2 separate regions of the Homo sapiens genome follow, and region 1 is linked to region 2. Evidence: promoter capture Hi-C in 16 types of primary human blood cells and fetal thymus (Javierre and others, 2016). All regions are on one chromosome and are shown on one strand. The core of a region is centred on a gene start or on the middle of the fragment in contact, and the rest is flanking DNA. Distances in the headings are between cores, read along the strand shown. Region 1 overlaps PRKCI (protein kinase C iota). Region 2 holds the start of SEC62 (SEC62 preprotein translocation factor).

The links. The method cuts DNA at HindIII sites, captures the fragments that hold promoters and counts their contacts. A CHiCAGO score of 5 or more calls a contact.
Region 1: a fragment that was not itself captured here is called in contact with the fragment with the promoter of SEC62 in region 2 in 1 of 17 cell types (fetal thymus); the score reaches 5.5 in fetal thymus.

Annotation. Positions count from the first base shown.
Region 1 is chr3:170,275,551-170,279,072 of GRCh38, forward strand. The region is part of intron 8 of PRKCI (protein kinase C iota); the gene reads left to right. Among named protein-coding and RNA genes, the nearest start is that of PRKCI, 55 kb to the left of the region's middle. The HindIII fragment of the contact is 3,036 bases long and covers 197-3,232 here.
Region 2 is chr3:169,964,969-169,968,236 of GRCh38, forward strand. It overlaps SEC62 (SEC62 preprotein translocation factor), which reads left to right and starts at 1,839. Exons shown (of 8, transcript NM_003262.4): 1 at 1,839-1,890. The coding sequence starts at 1,855. It also overlaps the pseudogene FHL1P1. RefSeq lists an enhancer at 1,518-1,957. The HindIII fragment of the contact is 8,040 bases long and covers 1-2,499 here.

The DNA of each region.
Region 1 (3,522 bases), core at 465-2,964, 310 kb after region 2:
TTAAAATACTTGGTAGTATTGTTTAAAATATATAGTAGACCCTTCCGTTTTGTGCCTGAATTGCTTATTTAGACAATAAATGATTAAACATATTAACTGTCATTGTTTTTTTGACTATTAAGTATTTTATCAGTTTTTAAAACAAAACAAATAATTAAAATGATTTGATTAAAATAATAATCAGTTTTTTGAAAAAAGCTTATAGTGAAAAAGATAATCATGTCTCCCACCTTCCACTCCCAGTTTGGCTTCTTGGCAACCTTTTAAACCATTTCTAGTTATGTCCATAATATTTATATTTCTGTTTTTCAATTTTTTATTTTTGTGTATTTCTGGACATGAAAGATTTAGTTCACACTGCCTCCTCTCTTTCCCGTATCATTCTTTTTTTTTTTTTTTTTGAGTTGGGGTCTTGCTGTGTTGCCCAGGCTGGAGTGCAGTGGTGTGATTATGGCTCACTGCAACCTTAAACTCCTGGGCTCAAGTTATCTTCCCACCTTAGCCTCCCGAGTAGCTAGGACTATAGCCCTGTGCCACCACACCCAGCTAATTTTTTCATTTTCTATTTTGTAGAGACAGAGTCTCACTATGTTGCCCAAGCTAGTCCCGAACTCCTGGCCTCAAGCAGTTCTCCCAAATCAGCCTCTCTAAGTGTTAGGATTACAGGCATGAGCCACCATGCCCAGCCAAAACTTTGAAACATAAATAAAAGTAAACAATAATATAACAAAGCCCTTGTATCTATTGTTAGTTAAAACAGCTATCAATTCATGTCTAGCCTTATTTTGTCTACTCACTTCCCTCACTCCTGTATTATTTTGAAGAAACCTGTTAGTCACCTATTTGATGTTATGTTTTAGTTTCTTGTTCTGTTTGTCTGAAAAAGTCTTTTTTTCTTTTTAACTTTTTTTTTTCTTTTTATTTTTTTTGTGAGACAGGATTATTGCACAGGCACCCGTGCAGTGGTGCAATGATGGCTCACTACAGCCTCAACTTCTTGAGTTCAAGCCACCTCAGCCTCTCAGGTAGCTGGGACTACAGGCATGTGTCACCACTGGACCCTCATCACAATATACAAAAATTTACTCAAGGTGGAATAAAGATTTAAATGTAATACCTCAAACTATAAAAATCCTAGAAGAAAACCTAGGAAATATCCTCTCGACATTGGCCCCGGCAAAGAATTTTTGGCTAAGTCTCCGAAAACAATTGCAACAAAGCCAAAAATTGACAAGTGGGACCTAATTAAACTACAGAGCTTCCACGCAGCAAAAGAATCCACCAATAAACAGACAACCTAAAGAATGGGAGAAAATAGTCACAAACTATACATCCAACAAAGATCTCATATCCAGAATTTATAAGGAACTTAACAGCAAAAAACAACCCCATTAAAAAATGAGCAAAGGGCTGGGCATGGTGGCTTACACCAGTAATCCCAGCACTTTGGGAGGCAGAGTCAGGCAGATCACTTGAGGCCAGGAGTTTGAGATCAGCCTGGCTGACATAGTGAAACCCCATGTCTACTAAAAATACAAAAAAAAAAAAAAAATTAGGGCGTGGTGGCACACACCTATAATACTAGCTACTTAAGAGGTTGAGGCACGAAAATCATTGGAACTGGGGAGGCGGAGATTACAATGAGCCAAGATCATGCCACTGCACTCCAGCCTGGGCGACAGAGCAAGACACTGTTTAAAAAAAGAAAAAAAAAAGGGCAAAGGACATGAACAGACATATCTCAAAATAAGACCTATAAGCAGCCAACACACATGAAAAACCACTCATCGTCACTAATTATCAGAGAAATAGAAATCAAAACCACAGTGAGATACCATCTCACACCAGTCAGAATAGCTGTTACTAAAAAATCAACTTGGGCGTGATGGCTCACACATGTAATCCCAGCACTTTGAGAGGCTAAGGCGGAAGGATTGAGCCTGAGAGTTCAAGAGCAGCCTAGGCAACATAGTCTCTACTAAAAATACAAAAAATTAGCCAGGCTCGGTGGCAGGCGCCTGTAGTCCCAGCTGCTCGGGAGGCTGAGGCAGGAGAATGGTGTGAACCCAGGAGGCGGAGCTTGCAGTGAGCAGAGACTGTACCAGTGCACTCCAGCCTGGGCGAAAGAGCGAGACTCCGTCTCAAAAAAAAAAAAAAAAGAAAATTACAAATAACACTTTTACTGTTTCTCTAGAAGATGCAGTGACCTTGGCACACCTTAAATTCATTCCTTTTCCATTCCTGCCTTTGGGTGTTATTATTATCAGAGTTTAAAATTCTGTGTGTGTGTATATTTGTTTTTTTAAACAGTTACTCCTTATGTAGATTTACCCACATTTTACCCTTTTTGTTTTTCTTTCCTTCCTACGTCTGTTCCTCCATCTGAGATCATGCATTTTCTCCTTCAAGAACTCAATTTAGTTTTTCCTTTAGTGAGCACCTAGTAGTGATGGATCCACTCAGTTTTTCTTTGTCTGAAAATGTTTTTCTTTCACTTTCACTTTGTGAGCTACTTTTGCAGGATAGAGAATTCTAGGTCAGCTGTTTTCTTCTTTTTTAGGCCCTTTGAAGATGACATTTCACTGTTAAGTGGCGTCTATCATTTCATTCAGCCTTATTATTGTGTCGGTGAAGTTAACTCTATCTTTTTTGCTCCACTTGATTCTCTCTTATAGTTTCCAGTTAGCCATATTTCAAGTCTATGTGTTGACTTACTTTCTTACACTTCTCTTCTTTCTTAACCTTCTCAAACCTGGTTTCTTTTCACTCTGCTGTATTTACCCTTGTGTGTTAGTCTGTTTTGTGTTGTTACAAAGGAATACCTGAAGGTTGGGTGTGGCAGCTCACACCTATAATCCTAGGACTTTAGACCGGGAGGATCATTTGAGGCCAGTAGTTCAGGACCAGCCTTGGCAACATAGCAAGACCCTCCATGTCTACAAAAAATAAATAAAAATTAGCCGGGTTTGGAGGCACATGCCTGTAGCCCCAGCTACTTGGGAGACTGAGGCAGGAGGATCACTTGAGCCCAGGAGTTCATGGCTGCAGTGAGCTATGTTCGTGCCACTGCACTGCAGCCTGGGTGACAGAACAAGACCTTTTCTTAAATAAATAAATAAATGAAGGAAGGAATAAAGGAATACCTAAGGCTGGGTAATTTATACAAGATTTATTTGGTGCACGGTTCTGCAGGCTGATCAGTAAGTATTGCACTAGCATCTGCTTCTCAGGAAGCTTTCAGTCTTGGCAGAAGGCAAAGGGGAAGCAGGTGTGCCACATGGCAAGAGAGGGAGCAAGGGAGTCAGGGGAGGTGCCACACTCTGAACTCACTCATTACACAGGAACACACCAAGCCATTCATGAGGAATCTGTCCCTGTGACCCAAACACCTCCCACTAGGGATCACATTTCAGCATGAGATTTGAGATTTGGAGGGGTCAGATATACAAACTATCACCTTGTTACCAAATCAAATTATTATTATTATTACTATTATTGACAGGGTCTCACTTTGTGATGCAG
Region 2 (3,268 bases), core at 589-3,088:
CCATAGTCCTAACCTAACATTTGACATCTATCTAGTAGGCACTCAATACCTACTGAATGCAATAATATTTTCATTTATAGACCAGGTCTCCTATAAAATAGTCCAGTGTTTATGTCCACATAAAACAGCACAAAACAGATTCATCATTCTGGGTGGGTAGAGGGATTGAAGGAAATAAAGACATTTCATATTCTATATTATGTTTTGGGTTAATTGGCAAGAATAATTACTTCTTTCTCACCCCATCCCTGACTATACACACACCCAAATTATAGATTATAGAGGAGAAAGGAATTAAATGACTCCTGAGACCAGAACTGCATAGTCCAAAAAAAAAAAAAAAATTCAGCAATCTTACTTTATTAAAAAATTAGGCATCAAGATGCTGCAATTTGCCTTACTTACATATTTAATTGCTCTTAGGTTAGATATATAATATGGGAAACCTGGAAAAAAATTTTAATGGTATAATAAACGCTTACAACCTAACATTAAGTGAAAAAAGCAGCTGCCTTATTGCATATGATCTCAATTTGGGAAACAGGAAAAAATATAAATACAAACACACATGCACACACACACACAAAGTCAGAATACTATAAGAAAATAAACTGAACGGTCACAGTGGCTCACGCCTGTAGTTCCAGTTACTCAGGAGACAGAGACAGGTGGATCGTTTTGAGCCCAGGAGTTCAAGACCCGCCCGGGCAACATAAGGAAACTCCATCTCCACACAAAAAAAGTAAAAATTAGCCAGGTGTGGTGGCTCATGCCTGTAGTTCCAGCTACTCAGGAGGCTGAGGAGGGAGATCAGTTGAGACGAGGAGTTCGGTGATGCAGTGAGCCGAGACTGCGCCACTGCACTCCAGCTTGGGCAATATAGAGCGAAACTCAGCATCAAAAAAAAAAGAACATCTTTCTATTCTGAATTTTCCCAATTTTCTACAATTAAAAACGCTTTAAAGATCTCTATAAAGTCAGTCAAGGGAATTTCTATCTAAGCACTTACCAGCAATTTGAGCTCCTTCTCTTTTGGTCTAGGTGGCTCTAAAATAACAATAAAGGCTACAGTGATTGAAATTCACCAGACTTGAAATAGACTGCAGCCTTCTTCCTTCCCACCTTCTTAGAATCTTTGTCCTATTCATCTTCCTTACGCTTCCCCGGGTTCTCTTACTTCTGGATTCTAACAGTGAGTTGTGAGAAGCAACGCGGAAAACGGAATGGAGACTCCAGCTTGTTTTAAACGAGCTGTATTACCCCGCACAGTGCAGGAGAAAAGATAATTGGCTCAGGTCTCGGCTCTGCCATCTACCACCTGTGGAGCCTTAGATAAGTCAGTTCTTATCTCTGTCACTCAACGGTCTCGGTCTTGTCATCTTTTACATGGAATGTCATGAAATATACAGTACATTGCAGGAACTGCCTCAGGTAAAGACTTCTAGGGTTCAGTAGGTCTCAGTCGATCCCTCTGAGAAAGGCCGCACCCTAAATGCACAGACTCTGACTCTAAGGGGATGGGGTCGGGGAATCTGCATTTTAGTAGCTTCTCAGGTGATTCAGATGCTCAGTCAGGATTGAGAAACCAGGACTCTTCCCAGCCCTCCTGTTCTCTGATCCACTTCTCTGCTTCCTCCACGTCCTAACGATTCTCCAGTTCCCGCACAGCAGGAGCGGAGGGAAGAGGGGAGAGAAGGCACCGCTAAGGACCGCTGGCCCCGCCAGGCGGCCGACCTCCCCATTCCAGGGGCGCCAGCCGGCGGATTACATAACGGGCCTCGGGGCGCGTTCTCGCGAGGTTTCCACCGCCCCCTCCTCGCTCCACGTCAGAGGGAACCGGGCGGAGCGGCCAACATGGCGGAACGCAGGAGACACAAGAAGCGGATCCAGGTAGCAAAGCCGAGCTCTGGGCAGGGGGCTTCGGCGCGCTGGATAGTGGAAGGGGCGGGGAAAGCCCCCTAAAAGGGCGAGCGAAAGCAAGGGCGAGGTGGGGTGGGGTGGGGTGGGGTTCCGCCGCGAGGCAGCTGGCTGCAGGCTGCGCGTTGTGAGGGGCCTGAGGGGGGGCGGTGTTGGCGACGGCGGAGACAGAGACGGAGGTGGTGGTGGAGCAGCAGGGGAAGGAAGGAGGCGCCGCGCTCAGAATCCGGCTGCGGAGGCGCGGCTGTGGGCCTGGAGTTCCTGTGGTCGCGCTGTCCCGGGCCTGAGCTGGAAGGTCAGCCTCCCCTGGGGCGCAGACGCTGACCCTTCCCGGGGCTCCTCCCCTCCCTTCACCCCATCCTCTGGCCTTAGCTGGCCTGAAATTAAGGCCACGGTAATAGGGGTAGCAGGAGGCGGCGGACTGACCTAAAGCAGCTGGTTCTTTGTGCGCATAGACCGTAAGGGGGAATGATCTGGACTTGGTCAGCTGCCTCGGGGCCTAGGCAGGGATCTGCTCATCCAGATGTTCAGTTGCGTTGCCCTTCTTTCCCTTCAATATTATTAACTTAATAGTCCACTTGAAGCTTGCCGGCTTTTTTCCGGGCGACGTGGTGTAAACAACCACAACCTCGTTGGTGCTGCAACGAGCTGGTGGAGCCCAGAAACCTTTCACATGCCAGTGTGTCATCCTCGTAGTAACGTACATAACATCTCCCCCTAATTCCACATGCGTGTCATTTGTGCATTTCTTCCTTGCGATTTTCCCTGGTTCTTGTTCTTTGCCAAGAGGATTAATTATGTAGAACATCTTGGACTCAGGATATTTATTAGTCGTCTCATCAGCTGATGTGCTGAGAAACCTTCATAAGCCCTCAAATTGATCACATGTAGTAAATTGTTACTATAATCATAAATTGTTACATTCATCATTGCCTTTCTGTTCCTTACTATTTCATTGCTTAGAATGATTTTTTCTTTCTTCCATTTTATCCCTTCTTTTTTTTTTTAAGTTTATCGATTTATTGGCGTACAATACAGATGTTTTGAGCTATGCAAGTTAAAATTCTTCTGTAAACTTTTTAAGTGCTGTGAAAAAGACACACATGATCAGTAAATTTGGAATTTTGGAATTTGGCAGAAATAAAGTAGTTCCGAACAGGGTGCAGAAGGGAATTAGAAAGAGGCAGATTTCGAGTTCAGACAGATAAGACTAGGTCTTAAGATCAGTAGAAGTTTCTAATTATACTGTTCTTAATCTTTCAAGAGTTAGTGTTATTCCTCTGACGTGGGTATACAGTATTTTATTAGATTGTATATTGAAATTGTCTGTCAGATTTGTACTTACAGAACT